Linked DNA regions of Homo sapiens: regions 2, 3, 4 and 5 are each linked to region 1. The links are contacts of gene promoters, found by promoter capture Hi-C in blood cells and fetal thymus (Javierre and others, 2016). All regions are on one chromosome and are shown on one strand. The core of a region is centred on a gene start or on the middle of the fragment in contact, and the rest is flanking DNA. Distances in the headings are between cores, read along the strand shown.

What was found. Contacts are between HindIII fragments. The CHiCAGO score rates a contact against its expected background, and 5 or more counts as called.
Region 2: a contact is called between a fragment that was not itself captured here and the fragment with the promoter of HJV in region 1, in 2 of 17 cell types (non-activated CD4 T cells and total CD8 T cells). The highest score is 5.7, in non-activated CD4 T cells.
Region 3: a contact is called between a fragment that was not itself captured here and the fragment with the promoter of HJV in region 1, in 1 of 17 cell types (activated CD4 T cells). The highest score is 5.4, in activated CD4 T cells.
Region 4: a contact is called between a fragment that was not itself captured here and the fragment with the promoter of HJV in region 1, in 17 of 17 cell types (total CD8 T cells, activated CD4 T cells, total CD4 T cells and 14 more). The highest score is 23.3, in total CD8 T cells.
Region 5: a contact is called between a fragment that was not itself captured here and the fragment with the promoter of HJV in region 1, in 5 of 17 cell types (activated CD4 T cells, total CD8 T cells, neutrophils and 2 more). The highest score is 7.2, in activated CD4 T cells.

Annotation. Positions count from the first base shown.
Region 1 is chr1:146,020,420-146,023,025 of GRCh38, forward strand. HJV (hemojuvelin BMP co-receptor) reads right to left here and starts at 1,316. Exons shown (of 4, transcript NM_213653.4): 1 at 1,168-1,316. The HindIII fragment of the contact is 1,771 bases long and covers 1,135-2,606 here.
Region 2 is chr1:145,779,159-145,781,764 of GRCh38, forward strand. All of the region lies in intron 3 of RNF115 (ring finger protein 115), which reads right to left. Among named protein-coding and RNA genes, the nearest start is that of RNF115, 44 kb to the right of the region's middle. The HindIII fragment of the contact is 1,049 bases long and covers 785-1,833 here.
Region 3 is chr1:145,796,373-145,798,978 of GRCh38, forward strand. The region is part of intron 1 of RNF115 (ring finger protein 115); the gene reads right to left. Among named protein-coding and RNA genes, the nearest start is that of RNF115, 26 kb to the right of the region's middle. RefSeq lists a silencer at 670-870. The HindIII fragment of the contact is 3,772 bases long and covers 1-2,606 here.
Region 4 is chr1:145,829,322-145,831,927 of GRCh38, forward strand. The region is part of intron 5 of POLR3C (RNA polymerase III subunit C); the gene reads left to right. Among named protein-coding and RNA genes, the nearest start is that of POLR3C, 6.4 kb to the left of the region's middle. The HindIII fragment of the contact is 3,385 bases long and covers 1-2,606 here.
Region 5 is chr1:145,873,333-145,875,938 of GRCh38, forward strand. It overlaps ANKRD35 (ankyrin repeat domain 35), which reads right to left. Exons shown (of 14, transcript NM_144698.5): 8 at 1,490-1,674; 9 at 823-860; 10 at 1-653. Among named protein-coding and RNA genes, the nearest start is that of ANKRD35, 11 kb to the right of the region's middle. The HindIII fragment of the contact is 7,026 bases long and covers 1-2,606 here.

The DNA of each region.
Region 1 (2,606 bases), core at 66-2,565:
AGACTGGAATTTGGGGAGATTGGAGTTCCTCAAACTATAAGTGTGGCAGTTAAGCCTCTTTGCCCTGTTCCTGTGGCCACTTTTAGGGCCCTTGTGCAATACCCCTAGGTGGGGGTGGAGGGAAGGTTGAGTGAACTCAAGGGGGCAGAGTCCACTGTATTGCTCCATTCTGAGCTACCAAACAGCAGGTATGTCAAAGATGGAGGAATCATGGGGCTAGATCAGATACCAGTAATCCTAGTGGGTACCCTAGTAAAATTAGGACCTGAAAATATTTCAGAAACATACTTCTTATTTGTCCCTCTCCATTAGGAGGAGATGCCCTCTAGGAGTCATACATTTCTTTTCCTCCTTTGTGTCAGAACACAAGAAGGATTAAGGGTGGCATACCCATCCCGTCTAGAATATCAGTATTCAAATGAAAAGGAAACCAATCTCTTTTCATCAGCTCTAGAGAGCTGCAATTTTAATCTCCCTCTCTCATGGAATAATGGGATGCAAACCAAACATGCAAATCAATATTTGTTTTTTCTAAGTCAACAGTTCTTGTATTTTCCCAAATATCACTCCTTCCATTAATCTCTTCTTTTCAAATTCTGAAGTTCTCAGTCTTTTATGATGACAGGAGTTGGAGAGGGGCTAAATCCCTCCTGCCTAACTCCCCTATCTTATGGGTAAGGATATGATTGGGGGAAGAGTCCTGCAAGAGGGAGAATAGAATGGAGGGACTAGAGTTGTGGGGAGAAATCATTTACAGGGAGCAGCCCCCATGCTTGGAATCTCAATGTGAAGGGCATTGCTAAGTGGGGGCAGGATAGAAGGGTATCAGTGACTCATCATCTGAGGTCATATTTGGCCTTGGTAAGAAAACTACAGAATAGAGGACGTAGGGAACTCCTTCTAAAACTTCATCAGGAGTCTTGAGGTAATAAGGTAAAGAGAGGGCTAAGACTGCCAGAGGAGAGACAGAGAATTAAACTTCAAAAAGCTAGAGGCCAGAGGCCAGAAAGAAATAAGACAGAAAGAGAAATGGAGATTGGGGCACCTTGGTAGGGAGAGATCCCAGCATTTGGACGAGAGACATCCAAGTAGGTGTTTGTAATTTTATAAAAGTCTAACTTCAATATAAAAGCTTATTAAAGGAATTGCAATTTCATTTTGACTTACTGTTTCCAGAGGTCAAACATTACTCTGCTATCCAATTCTCCAGCCATGATTCCCTACTCTGTGGGTCAGCTCCAGCCAGGGGGTCCTCCGTGTCTCCCCCAGGTCCCCAGGCCGGCTGCTGTCTCACTGAGGTCAGGGAACCAGAGAAGGTTTGGTATGGGGGGAAGGGGGAGTATATGGCTGGCCAGAGTACTGGACAGCTGAGCAGGGAGGGAGGTGGCTACTGAGTTGACGGTTTTAAAAATAGCTAAGTCCAAAATTCCAGGAACGTTGGTGGGGGTAGGGTGTGGGAGTTGGGGGAGTGGGGAGGGTTAGAGGATTAGAAAGAATATGGAGTATTGAGTGCCAAGTCAGGGAGGGAGGAGAGAAATATGACAGACAAGTTGGATATCCAATTCCAGCTTGTGTGACTCTGTGGTCACTGCCTACTCCAGGCAGCCCTCCAGCATTTTCAATAATGTTGAGCTCCTGGCCTTTAAAAATTACAGTGGGCAATTGGATACCTTTCATTTACCATGTTCATCCCTGCTATGCTGAATATTACATTTAGGTTCTACAGATAGTATCTAGGAGGTAGCTGACTTTGAATAAGATCCATAGCAGAGGTAGTTCATAGCCCCTCTCCTATCTTTGCAGAGTATTTCAGAAGGACGAAAAAAGCCAGCTGTCCAGAGAAGAAATCTGAGCTGTGAGTTGCTTAGGATGAGGGTTTGTTCAGTCTATCCAGCTCAGATCCTTGCAGCTGTCTATCCTCCTACCTACTCCATTTTCATTACTTTAGTTTGTACAGCAATTCATCTTCCTCTCCCTCATGAATACACAAAAAATAAAGGCTCCCGATTTGCTTGGAGAGAAGGCTAACAAAGGCAAAGAGGTGAAGAAAGAATGGAAATAGAATTCTTCTAAAGAAAGAGTTGGAGAAATAGAAAAAGATTCAAAAATATACTTTTCCTTCCTTCCTTCCTTCCTTCCTTCCTTCCTTCCTTCCTTCCTTCACTCCCTCCCTCCCTCCCTCCCTCCTTCCTTCCTTCCTTCCGAGATGAGGTCTCACTATGTTGACCAGGCTGGTCTTGAACTCCTTGCCTCAATGAATCCTTCCATCTCAGCCTCTCAGAGTGCTGGGATTACAAGTGTGAACCAACATGCCTAGCCTCAGAAAGATACTTTTATGGAATAACATAATCTTGTGACCATAAATATTGCAAAATCTCAGCACTTTGGGAGCTGAGGCAGGAGGGTCACTTGAGCGCAGGAGTTTGAGGCTGCAGTGAGCTATGATAACGCCATTGCACTCCAGCCTGGGCAACAGTGAGACCCGCCCCCCCACCCCCCTTAAAAAAGAAAAGAGATACTGCAACCAAGGGATTTAGCCATGTCATGTTTTTGCAGCCATAGGTATATCTGAGATCATCATCTTTTAGTACTTGCCAAGTGAAATT
Region 2 (2,606 bases), core at 59-2,558, 240 kb before region 1:
AGAATATGAAGTCCTAATTTTTTTTTTTTTTTTGGAGACAGGGTCTCACTCTGACACCCAGGCTGGGGTGCAGTGGCACGAGCTCAGCTCACTGCAACCTCTGCCTCCCAGGCTCAAGAGATTCTCCCACCTCCGCTTCTCGAGTAGCTGGGACTACACACATATGCCACTACACCTGGCTTTTTATTTTTATTTTTGTAGACACAGGGTTTTACCATGTTGCCCAGGCTGGTCTTGAACTCCTGGGCTCAAACAATCCGCCTGCCTCCGCCCTCCCAAAGTGCTAGGATTACAGGCATGAGCCACCACGTCCAGCTATAATTCTAATAACTATAGAGAGACAAGTAAAAGGTTTATGACATAATACCAAGTAAATTTTTAGAGGCAGAAATACAATATACTCTTATGACAGCAACTCTAAACAGTTATGAGGTATGCACATGAGAAATGAGAAGTATTTTGCTAAAAAATGCATAAAGCTATAATCAAGTAATGACAATATGGGATATTTCTTTATTTTTTGAAACGGAGTCTCGCTCTGTTGCTCAGGCTAGAGTGCAGTGGCACAATCTCAGCCCACTGCAACCTCCGCCTCCTGGGTTCAAGCGATTCTCCTGCCTCAGCCTCCCGAATAGCTGGGATTACAGGTGCCCGCCACCACACCTGGCTAATTTTTGTATTTTTAGTAAAGACAGGGTTTCATCACATTGGACAGGCTGGTCTGGAACTCCTGACCTCAAGTGATCTGCATGCCCGGCCAATATTTCTCATTTTTAAAAAAGCTTAGGCCCAGGCACGGTGACTCAAGCCCGTAATCCCAGCACTCTGGGAGGCCAAGACGAGAGGATGACCTGAGGTCAGGAGTTCCAGACCAGCCTGGCCAACGTGGTAAAACCCCATCTCTACCAAAAATACAAAAATTAGCCAGGTTTGGCGGCGGGGGCCTGTAATCCAAGCTACTCGGGAGGCTGAGGTGAGAGAATCACTAGAACCCAGGAGGCAGAGGTTGCAGTAAGCCGAGATCGTGCCATTGCACTCCAGCCTGGGCAACAGAGCGAGACCCCGTCTCAAAAAAACAAACAAAAAAGAGCTTAAGGTTGTTATTTTTCAGTAACTATGCCTTAGGACAAAATCTGAAAGGAAATGTATGGAAAAGGGAGCTCTTAGAATAGTGAAACTCGGCCGGGCGCAGTGGCTCACACCTGTAATCCCAGCACTTTGGGAGACCAAGGCGGGCAGATCACGAGGTCAGGAGATCGAGACCATCCTGGCTAACACGGTGAAACCCCGTCTCTACTAAAAATATAAAAAATTAGCCAGGCGTGGTGGCACGCGCCTGTGGTCCCAGCTACTCAGGAGGCTGAGGCAGGATAATCGCTTGAACCCAGAAGGCGGAGGTTGCAGTGAGCCGAGATTGCGCCACTGCACCCCAGCCTGGGCAACAGAGTGAGACTCCGTCTAAAAAAAAAAAAAAAAAAAAAAAAGTGAAACTCAAGATACATATTTTTAAATTTTTTACTGCCACTATAATGCTGCTTATGTAACAAAAACAAATAACAAATTTTATTTAAATACATATAAATCAGCTCAGAGCACCCTGCCCTCTTGTGCATACCTGAGAGCTCTTTTTTCCAGAAAGCCATGTATCTTATTTTCTCCCAATCTGAGGCAGCAGCCAGAGCCACTCTTGCACTGAAGCAATCCATTCAGGTAAGCTGAGACTCTAAGATCAGATGACCCACTGGCACCAGGTCGTGGTCAGAAGTTTGCAAGTAATCAATGAAACCTTCAGGTAGCTATGGGGCTCACTTTCTAGATTACCACCAGGAAGCTTAGTATAGCAATGTCTTCTCTCTACAAACTGCTAGCAATATTTTCAGATTCACTCTCCACCGGCCCTCACACATTATTCAAACACTGCTCCCATGTAACTGGCAACCCTCCCCTACCTTCTCTCTATCCCATTAGTCTCTTATCTCCTACCCCAGTCTCATTTTTTTAAAAAAAAGTCAATACTGATTTTGACAGAAATTTTCTTGGAATAAGCCTCTTCTAATATAGACAGTATTTTAAGAATTCAGCTATCAGTAAATGTTACTTATAGAAAATAACCACTTCATTGTACAAGCAGCTCCAGCTAAAGAAAAATAGAGCAAAACTGAGCATAAGTCTTTGCCGAAATTACCAACTAAAGCAGGGAAAAGAAAAACAACTTTAGTTTCTATATATAATTTTATTTCTAAGTTTTTTCTTCAGGGACATGAGCATAAAACCTTATAGCTTATGAATACTATTTTGAGATAATTTTCACATCTTTGCTTATCTAAATTCCACCTACTCTTCAAGGCTCCAGTGCAAGTTCTAACTTCACTATGAAGTCTTAATAATGGCTAAAATGTATCAAGCACTCACTAGATGGTAGGCACATTGCGGTCTACACACCTAGCATGTATTAACTCATTTAATCCTCGTAACATCCCTATGAGGGAAGGATGATTATTTCCCAATTTACAGACAAGGACAAGAGAGGCACTGAGAGATTCTAAGTAACTTTGCCCAGATTACACAGCCAATAAGTGGCAGACACAGGATTTGAGCTCAGGCAA
Region 3 (2,606 bases), core at 45-2,544, 220 kb before region 1:
ATTATTCTGTCTACACATTTTGTGGTAGAAAATACATAAAAATTTCCCATCTTAACTTTTTTTTTTTTTTCTGAGACAGGGTCTCCCTCTGTCACCCAAGCTGGAGCGCAGTGGCATGATCTCAACTCATTGTAACTTCCGCCTCCTGAGACTACAGGTGCATCCCACTGCACCTGGCTAATTTTTGTATTTTTTGTAGACATGAGGCTTCACCATGTTGCCCAGGCTGGTCTTGAACTCCTAAGCTCAAGCAATCTGCCTGCCTCAGCCTCCCAAAATACTAGGATTACAGGCATGAGCCACCACACTCAGCCCATATTAACCATTTTTAAGTGTACAGTTCAGAAGTGTTAAGTATATTCACACTGCTGTGAAACATCTCCAGAACCTTCTCATCTTGCAAAACTGAAACTCTATACCCATTAAACAACAACAACCCATTTCTCCCCTTCATTCCCTGGTAACCACCATTCTACCTCTGTTTCTATGAATTTATAATTTTTGATACTGACACCAACAACCTAACTGTCCCATAGAACTGACCATTATAGTTTCTTTTGAATAAAGATAGAAATTGACCCTCCCAGTCTTAAAACTTGAAAAAGTTACATTTGTCTTATCTGAGTTCCTTTCTCAGGAAACCAACCATCAGGTCTCCCAGATGATATCAAGGAACTGAAACGTACCAGATCACTGCATCTAAACAATGAAACCTCAAACCCCTCAACCCATCATGATTGCCTAAGTGACCTCCTGCTTCCTGTTGACCAACTTCTCTTCCTTATCTCTCCCTAATTCCTATTTTCCTGCATGTAGTTACAGTTCTTCCCTGCTATATAAGCCCTTAATTGTAGTCAGCCAGGGAGATGGATTTGAGACTGAGTTACCCTCTCCTCAGCTACAGCACCCAATTAAAACCTCCTTCTCTGGCAAAACTCATCGTCTCAGCAACTGGCTTTCTGTGCAGCAAGCAGCATAACCTAGAACACATCCCTGGTGTTTCAGTAATAATACCTAATATAAGTGAAAGCATACAGTATTCGTCTTTGACTGGCTTATTTCACTTAACACAATATCCTCAAGGTTCACCCACACTGTCGCATATGACAGGATTTATTTCCTTTTTAAAGCTAAATAATATTCCATTGTGTGTATATACCATATTTTATTTATTCATCAAGGACATCTGCGTTGTTTTCACCTCTTAGCTATCCTGAATGTGCTATGAGCATAGGTGTGCAAATATCTCTCTGAGGTCCTGCATTGAATACTTCTGGATACATATCCAGAAATGAGTTTGATGGATTACATAGTAATTCTATTTTTAATTTTTTGAGGAACTGCCATGCTGTTTTCCATCACAGTTGCACCATTTTACAGTCCCAACAGTGCACAAGAATAGTTCCAATTTCTCATAATCTTCACTAACACTCGTAATTCCCTGTTTGTTTTTTAATAGTAGCCATCCTAATGGATGTGAGGTGATATCTCATTGTGGTTTTGATTTGGATCTCTCTGATGATTAGTGATGTTGAACATCTTTTCAAATGTGTCTTGACCATTGGTTTATCATCTTTGGAGAAATGACTATTCAAGTCATTTGCCTATTTTTTAATCTGTTTATTTGATTTTTTGTTGTTGAGTTGTTGTTCTTTCTACATTCTGGATATTAATACTTTAACAGATACACAATTTACAAACATTTTCTCCCATTCCACAGGTTGCCTTTTCAAGTTGATTGTGTTCATTGATGCACCAAAGTTTTTAAGTTTGATGCAGTCCCATTTGCCTATTTTTGCTTTTGTTGCCTGTGCTTATGGTGTCATATGCCAGAAATCACTGCCAAATCCAAAGTTATAAAGCCTTTCCTCTAAGTTTTAAGTTATAAGCCTTTCCTCTAAGTTTTCTTTTAGGAGTTTTACAGTTTTAGGTCTTATATTTAGGTCTTTAATCCACTTTGAGTTTATTTTTATATATAGTGTAAAATATGAGTCCAAATTTTTGTTTTGTATGTGAAAGTCCAGTTTTCCCAACACTGTTTGCTGAAGAGACTGTCCTTGCTCCACAGAGGGGTCCTAGCACCTCTGTCCAAGATCATCTGACCACATATGCAAGGGTTTATTTCTGGAGTCTCTATTCCATTGTCTATATGTCTGTTGTTATGCCAGTACCACACTAGTTTTATTACCATAGCTTAGTAATATATTTTGAAATCAGAAAGTTTGAGTCCTCCAGCTTTGTTTTTCTTTTTGAAAACTGTTCTGGCTATTAGGGGTAACGTGAGATTCCAAATTAATTTTGGGATGAAACTTCTATTTGCAAAAAAAATGCTGTTGGGATTTTGATAGGTATTCTGTTGAATCTGTAGATCGCTTTGGGAAGAATTCATATCTTAACAATATTAAGTCTTCCAATCCATGAACACAGGATGTCTTTCTATTTATTTGTATGCTCTTTAATTCTTTTCAGCAGTATTTTACGGTTTTTAATATTCAAATTTTTCACTTCTTTGGTTAGGGTCATTCCTAACTTTCATTCTTTCTGATGCTACTGTTAATGGAATTGTTTTCTTAATTTTTCAAGTTGTTCACTGTGTATGGAAACAT
Region 4 (2,606 bases), core at 46-2,545, 190 kb before region 1:
GCCTAGGACACCACCATTTCTGCTTAAGCCAAAATCCTTGGAACCCTCTAATCTCACAGTAAAACATATCAGCCCAGTTTCCAAAATTACCTCAAATCCAACCATTTCTCATCTTTTCACTGCCATCTCTCAACTCTTTGCAAACGCTTTCGTTAATGGTCTCCCTAGCTGCATTCTTACCTACTTAGTAGCCAAAATGACTTTCTAAGTTGTTCAAAACAAAACAACACATCCACTGATTAGACTCCTTTAATAGCTTTCCTTTACTTTTAGAAGAAATCCAAGGTACGGGCTAGGAAGCCTTACGTGATCTAGGTCTTCGTATGATCTGCTGGAGACAGGGCTCTTCAACCTCACCTCTGCCCCGTCTCCATCTTACTCACTGTGTTCCCTCTACTGACTTTATCTCTTAAACATGTCAAACTCTTTCTGGTCTTTAGACTTTGGCTCCGGCTTCAAATGTTTGTCCCCAGATCTTCATGTAGTGGTCTCTGTTTTTATCATTTCTATCTTAAATGCTGTTTTCATAGACTTCAAGCACCATTGCCCACTCCTACACTAGTTCCTACCACATTTCTCATTTCATATACTTCACAGCATTTATATTTATAACTGGAATTATTTATTATTTGTGTACATGTTTGTCTAAGAGGTTTGGGCTTTATCCTGAAGGCAAAGGAGAGCCATTGATGGATTTTAAGCAGGGAAATGAAGTGACTGGATTTATATTTTAGAAAGATTATTATAGCACAGCAGTTCCTAACTTGTTCTACTCCATGGATGGATTTCAGAGAGTCCAGTTATACTTACGTGCATTTTTCAGTGAAGCTCTCCGTACCTTTCATTACATTCTTCAAAGGAACTGTGACCCAAAACAGTTTAAAAAAAAAAAAAGCACTACTCTAAGAAATGGGAAGAATGATGCAAAACAAAATTAGAAGGAGAAAACCCAGTTACTCCTTTTATAGTGTCTGCTATGTTTTAAAGGGAAAAAAAAAAACCCAGTTAGGAGGCTATTGTAGTAATCCAGATGGGCCAAGATTTAGAGTCTGAAATAAGGTAATGATAGGAGAAAGAAAAGTAGACATCTGATAAATATAAAGAATAGATAGAACTTGGTAATGGGGTGGTAGATTATGGAGAGCAAGGGACTAGGGGTGATACCCAAGTTTGTAGCTTAAGAAATCGGGTTGGCTGGCCAAGCACAGTGGCTCACACCTGTAATCCCAGCACTTTGGGAGGCCGAGGTAGGTGGATCACCTGAGGTCAGAGTTCGAGATGAGCCTGGTCAACATGGTGAAACCCCGTCTCTACTAAAAATACAAAAATTAACCGGCCATGGTGGTAGGTGCCTGTAATTACAGCTACTTGGGAGGCTGCGGCAGGATAATGGCCTGAACCTGGGAGGCAGGGGTTGCAGTGAGCTGAGATCACGCCACTGCACTCCATCCTTGGTGACAGAGCAAGACTCCATCTCAAAAAAAAAAAAGAAATTGGGTTGTCTAGGCACAGTGGCTCGTGCCTGTAATCCCAGCATTTTGGGAGGCTGACGTAGAAGAATCACTTGAGCCCAGGAGTTTGAGACCAGCCTGGACAACATAGTGAGACCCCATCTGTACCAAAAAAAAAAACACCAGACCTGGTGGCACATGTTTGTAGTCCCAGCTACTCAGGGGCTGAGGTGGGAGGATCACTTGAGCCCAGGAAGTCAAGGCTTCAGTGAGCCATGATGGTGCCACTGCACTACAGCCTGGGCAACAGAGCAAGACCCTGTCTCAAAAAAAAAAAAAAATTGGGTTGGTTATAGTGTAGTTACCTGAAAACTTACAAAACAGAACAGTTTGGGGAACAAATGGAAGTGTCAAATAGGCAGCTGAGTCTATGCATCTGGAGCATAATAGAGAGTTCCAGGATAGGCCGGGTGCGGTAATGCCTGTAATCCTAGCACTTTGGGAGGCAGAGGCAGGTGGATCACCTGAGGTCAGGAGTTCGAGACCAGCCTGGCCAAGATGGCGAAACCCCGTCTCTACTAAAAATACAAAAATTAGCCATGCATGGTGGCGCAGGCCTGTAATCCCAGCTACTTGGGAAGCTGAGGCAGGAGAATCGCTTGAACCTGGGGGGCAGAGGTTGCAGTGAGCGGAGATTGTGCCACTTCACTCCAGCCTGGGCGAAAGAGCAAAACTCCATCTCAAAAAAAAAAAAAAAAAGAGAGAGTTCTAGGATAGAGTAACAGATTTGGAAATGCATCAATAGTTGAAGCCTGGAGAGCAGATAAAATTACCCAAGTAGAGCATGTAGAGTAAAAAGAAAGGAAAGGTATGGACAGAACCCTGACAAAACACCAGGATTACAGTTGGGATCTGAAAGAGGAATCTGTGGATACTGAGGAAAGGTAGCCAGAAAGGTTCAAAGTAACGCCAAGAAAAAATGGTGTCGGCCAGGCCCAGTGGCTCACACTTGTAATCCTAACACTTTGGAAGGCCAAGGCGGGCAGATCGCTTGAGCCTAGGAATTTGAGACCATCCTGAGCAACATGGTGAGACCGTCTCTACAGAAAAATACAAAAATTACCCAAGCGTGGTGGCACGCACCTGTGGTCCCAG
Region 5 (2,606 bases), core at 50-2,549, 150 kb before region 1:
ACTGTGCCTCCTGGTTCAACTCCTAGAACCTGGGAACTCTCCTTCTGACCAGCAGGCAGCTGGTCAGCATGATCAGGGCCAAAGGTCTGTGCCCCATTGGTAGTCAGTTGCTGTCCTGTGGCTTTCCTGATGGTCTCAGACGCTGGGCTCTGGGGTGGCCCCTGTTCTTCTGGTTGGGACCTTCCATGGACTTCATACTGGATCTTTCCTGGGGCTGAGTCCTCAGCCTTCTTTGGAGCTAATACTGGATTTACTGTGGCTGCTGCCTGCTGCTGCTTCTTTAGCTCTTGTGTACTCTCAGCCAGCAGGTCCTTAGGACAACCCTGCTCCATGCCATCCCCTCCAGGCCGGAGACTAGAGCCTTGCTTTCCTGAAGCTCTGGGCTCCCAGGATAGGAGGACCCCTAGCTCCTGCGCCTGCTCTCGAATCTGGTTCTCAAGGTCCAGATAGGCTGCAGCTTGAGTCTTACACTCTTCTGTCTTTTGCACCAGCTCCTGCTCCAGCCGAACAACTTTCCTCCGCTCCTCTTCATACTTCCACCTCCACTCCTCCGAGCACGGGTCTTCATCCTCCTTCTCCTCTTGCTCCTCTTCAGGCTCTGCTCTCCATGAGCTCTTAGGAGGAGAACCTGCCTGGGGCTCAGATGGAGAGGCCTATGTTGGAAACAGAATAGTAAAGTGTGGCCACTAGGCAACGAACTGAGCCCTAGGAGTGCCTTTCTTCTCTTAAATGTCTTGACACCCCAAGGACCACTAGGAATAGTCACAGTGGGATAGCCTGGGGTGTGTCAAAAGCAAAAGGGGGAGGCACTTAGGGTCTTACCTGGGATGCGAGATCTGGGTGCTGGACTAGCCTCTGACCTATAAGAAAAGATATGAGGAAAATGAGAGAGAAGACAGGTTCCATGTACTTCCAGCCCACATTCTTATCTTCAGACTTTTTCTGAGAGGAGTGGCCTCTCTGTGATCAATCTCACTGCACATCTTCCTGGTGCCAGAAGCCAATCTTGTTTAGTGGATCCCTAACTATCCAGCAACTTTGGTTTCCTATCCCAGAAATGGGCCACTTCATTCATTTTGTTCGCTCATTTATTTATTGGTCACTATGTCCAGCACTTTAATAAGCACTGGAACTTCAATGGTGAGCAAAACAGAAATGGCCTGTCACCTAAGGGGGTTACAATCTGGTAGAGGAAAGAGAGAGTGACCAACAAATCACACAAATAGATGTACAATTACAACTCACAAACGCCAGAAACAACACTAGCCAGAGCTGTCCTCAGTGAGAGACCAGGCTGCATTAAAGAATTTTGTGATCATACTTTTGGGATGGGGATTTGGGGTCCTCTCACAGTAGCAGCAATAAATACGTAAACTCTCAACCCAGGTGACAATTATTTGTCAGATAGATTACTTCCATGGAAACAAATGGGACTCTAAGAAACTTCTCTGATTCTTAGAGAACGTGGAAGTTACACAAGGGCCTTTACCGCCCCGCCGCCGCCGGCTCAGGGCCTGCTGTAGGTGCCTCCACAGTGCCTTGTCTTGTGTGTGCAGAGCATAGTGCAGAGCATCATGCCCTGTGCTGTCCACAGCCCCCGCGTCAGCTCCGTGGCTCAGGAGCAGTTCAGCCACCTCGGCACTGCCTTTCTCACAGGCCAGGATCAAAGCCGATCTGTGGGTTGAGACAAATCTGAGCACAGACTTTCCACATGGAACCCAGAAGTCCTGGTTCCAGACATTCCACTCACAGGGTAAGCTCTCATTCAGTGGGGTCAGGAGAACAACAGACCAACATTAGACCAGACTAGACTTCTCTTTTTTTTTTTTTGAGACGGAGTTTCACTCTTGTTGCCCAGGCTGGAGTGCAATGGCATGATCTCGGCTCACTGCAACCTCTGCCTCCCAGGTTCATGCGATTCTCCTGCCTCAACCTCCCGAGTAGCTGGGATTACAGGCATGCACCACCACACCCGGCTAATTTTGTATTTTTAGTAGAGACAGGGTTTCTCCATGTTGGTCAGGCTGGTCTTGAACTCCTGACCTCAGGTGATCCACCCTCCACAGCCTCCCAAAGTGCTGGGATTACAGGTATGAGCCACTGCACCAGGCCAGGACTAGGCTTTTCAAATGCCATTCCTTAGAGCTGCAGGAACAGAAATTAGGGGGCCAACTGGATGAGCTCCATTTTTATCTGCTCTGTATATCAAGGTTCTACATACTTTTTTTTTTGAGACGGAGTCTCGCTCCTCTCTCGCCCAGGCTGGAGTGCAGTGGTGCAATCTCGGCTCACTGCAACCTCCACCTCCCAGATTCATGCCATTCTCCTGCCTCAGCCTCCCGAGTAGCTGGGACTACAGGCACCCACCACCATGCCTGACCAATTTTTTGTATTTTTAGTAGAGATGGGGTTTCACCATTTTAGCTAGGATGGTCTCAATCTCTTGACCTCGTGATCCACCCGCCTTGGCCTCCCAAAGTGCTGGGATCACAGGGATTCTACATACATTTTTTATTGGAAAAAAGGATCCTCTTGCATAAAAGATAATTTGACAACCAGTAAATTCAGCCAACGGGTCCAGAAGTGTCGATTCTACTTCTGGGGTC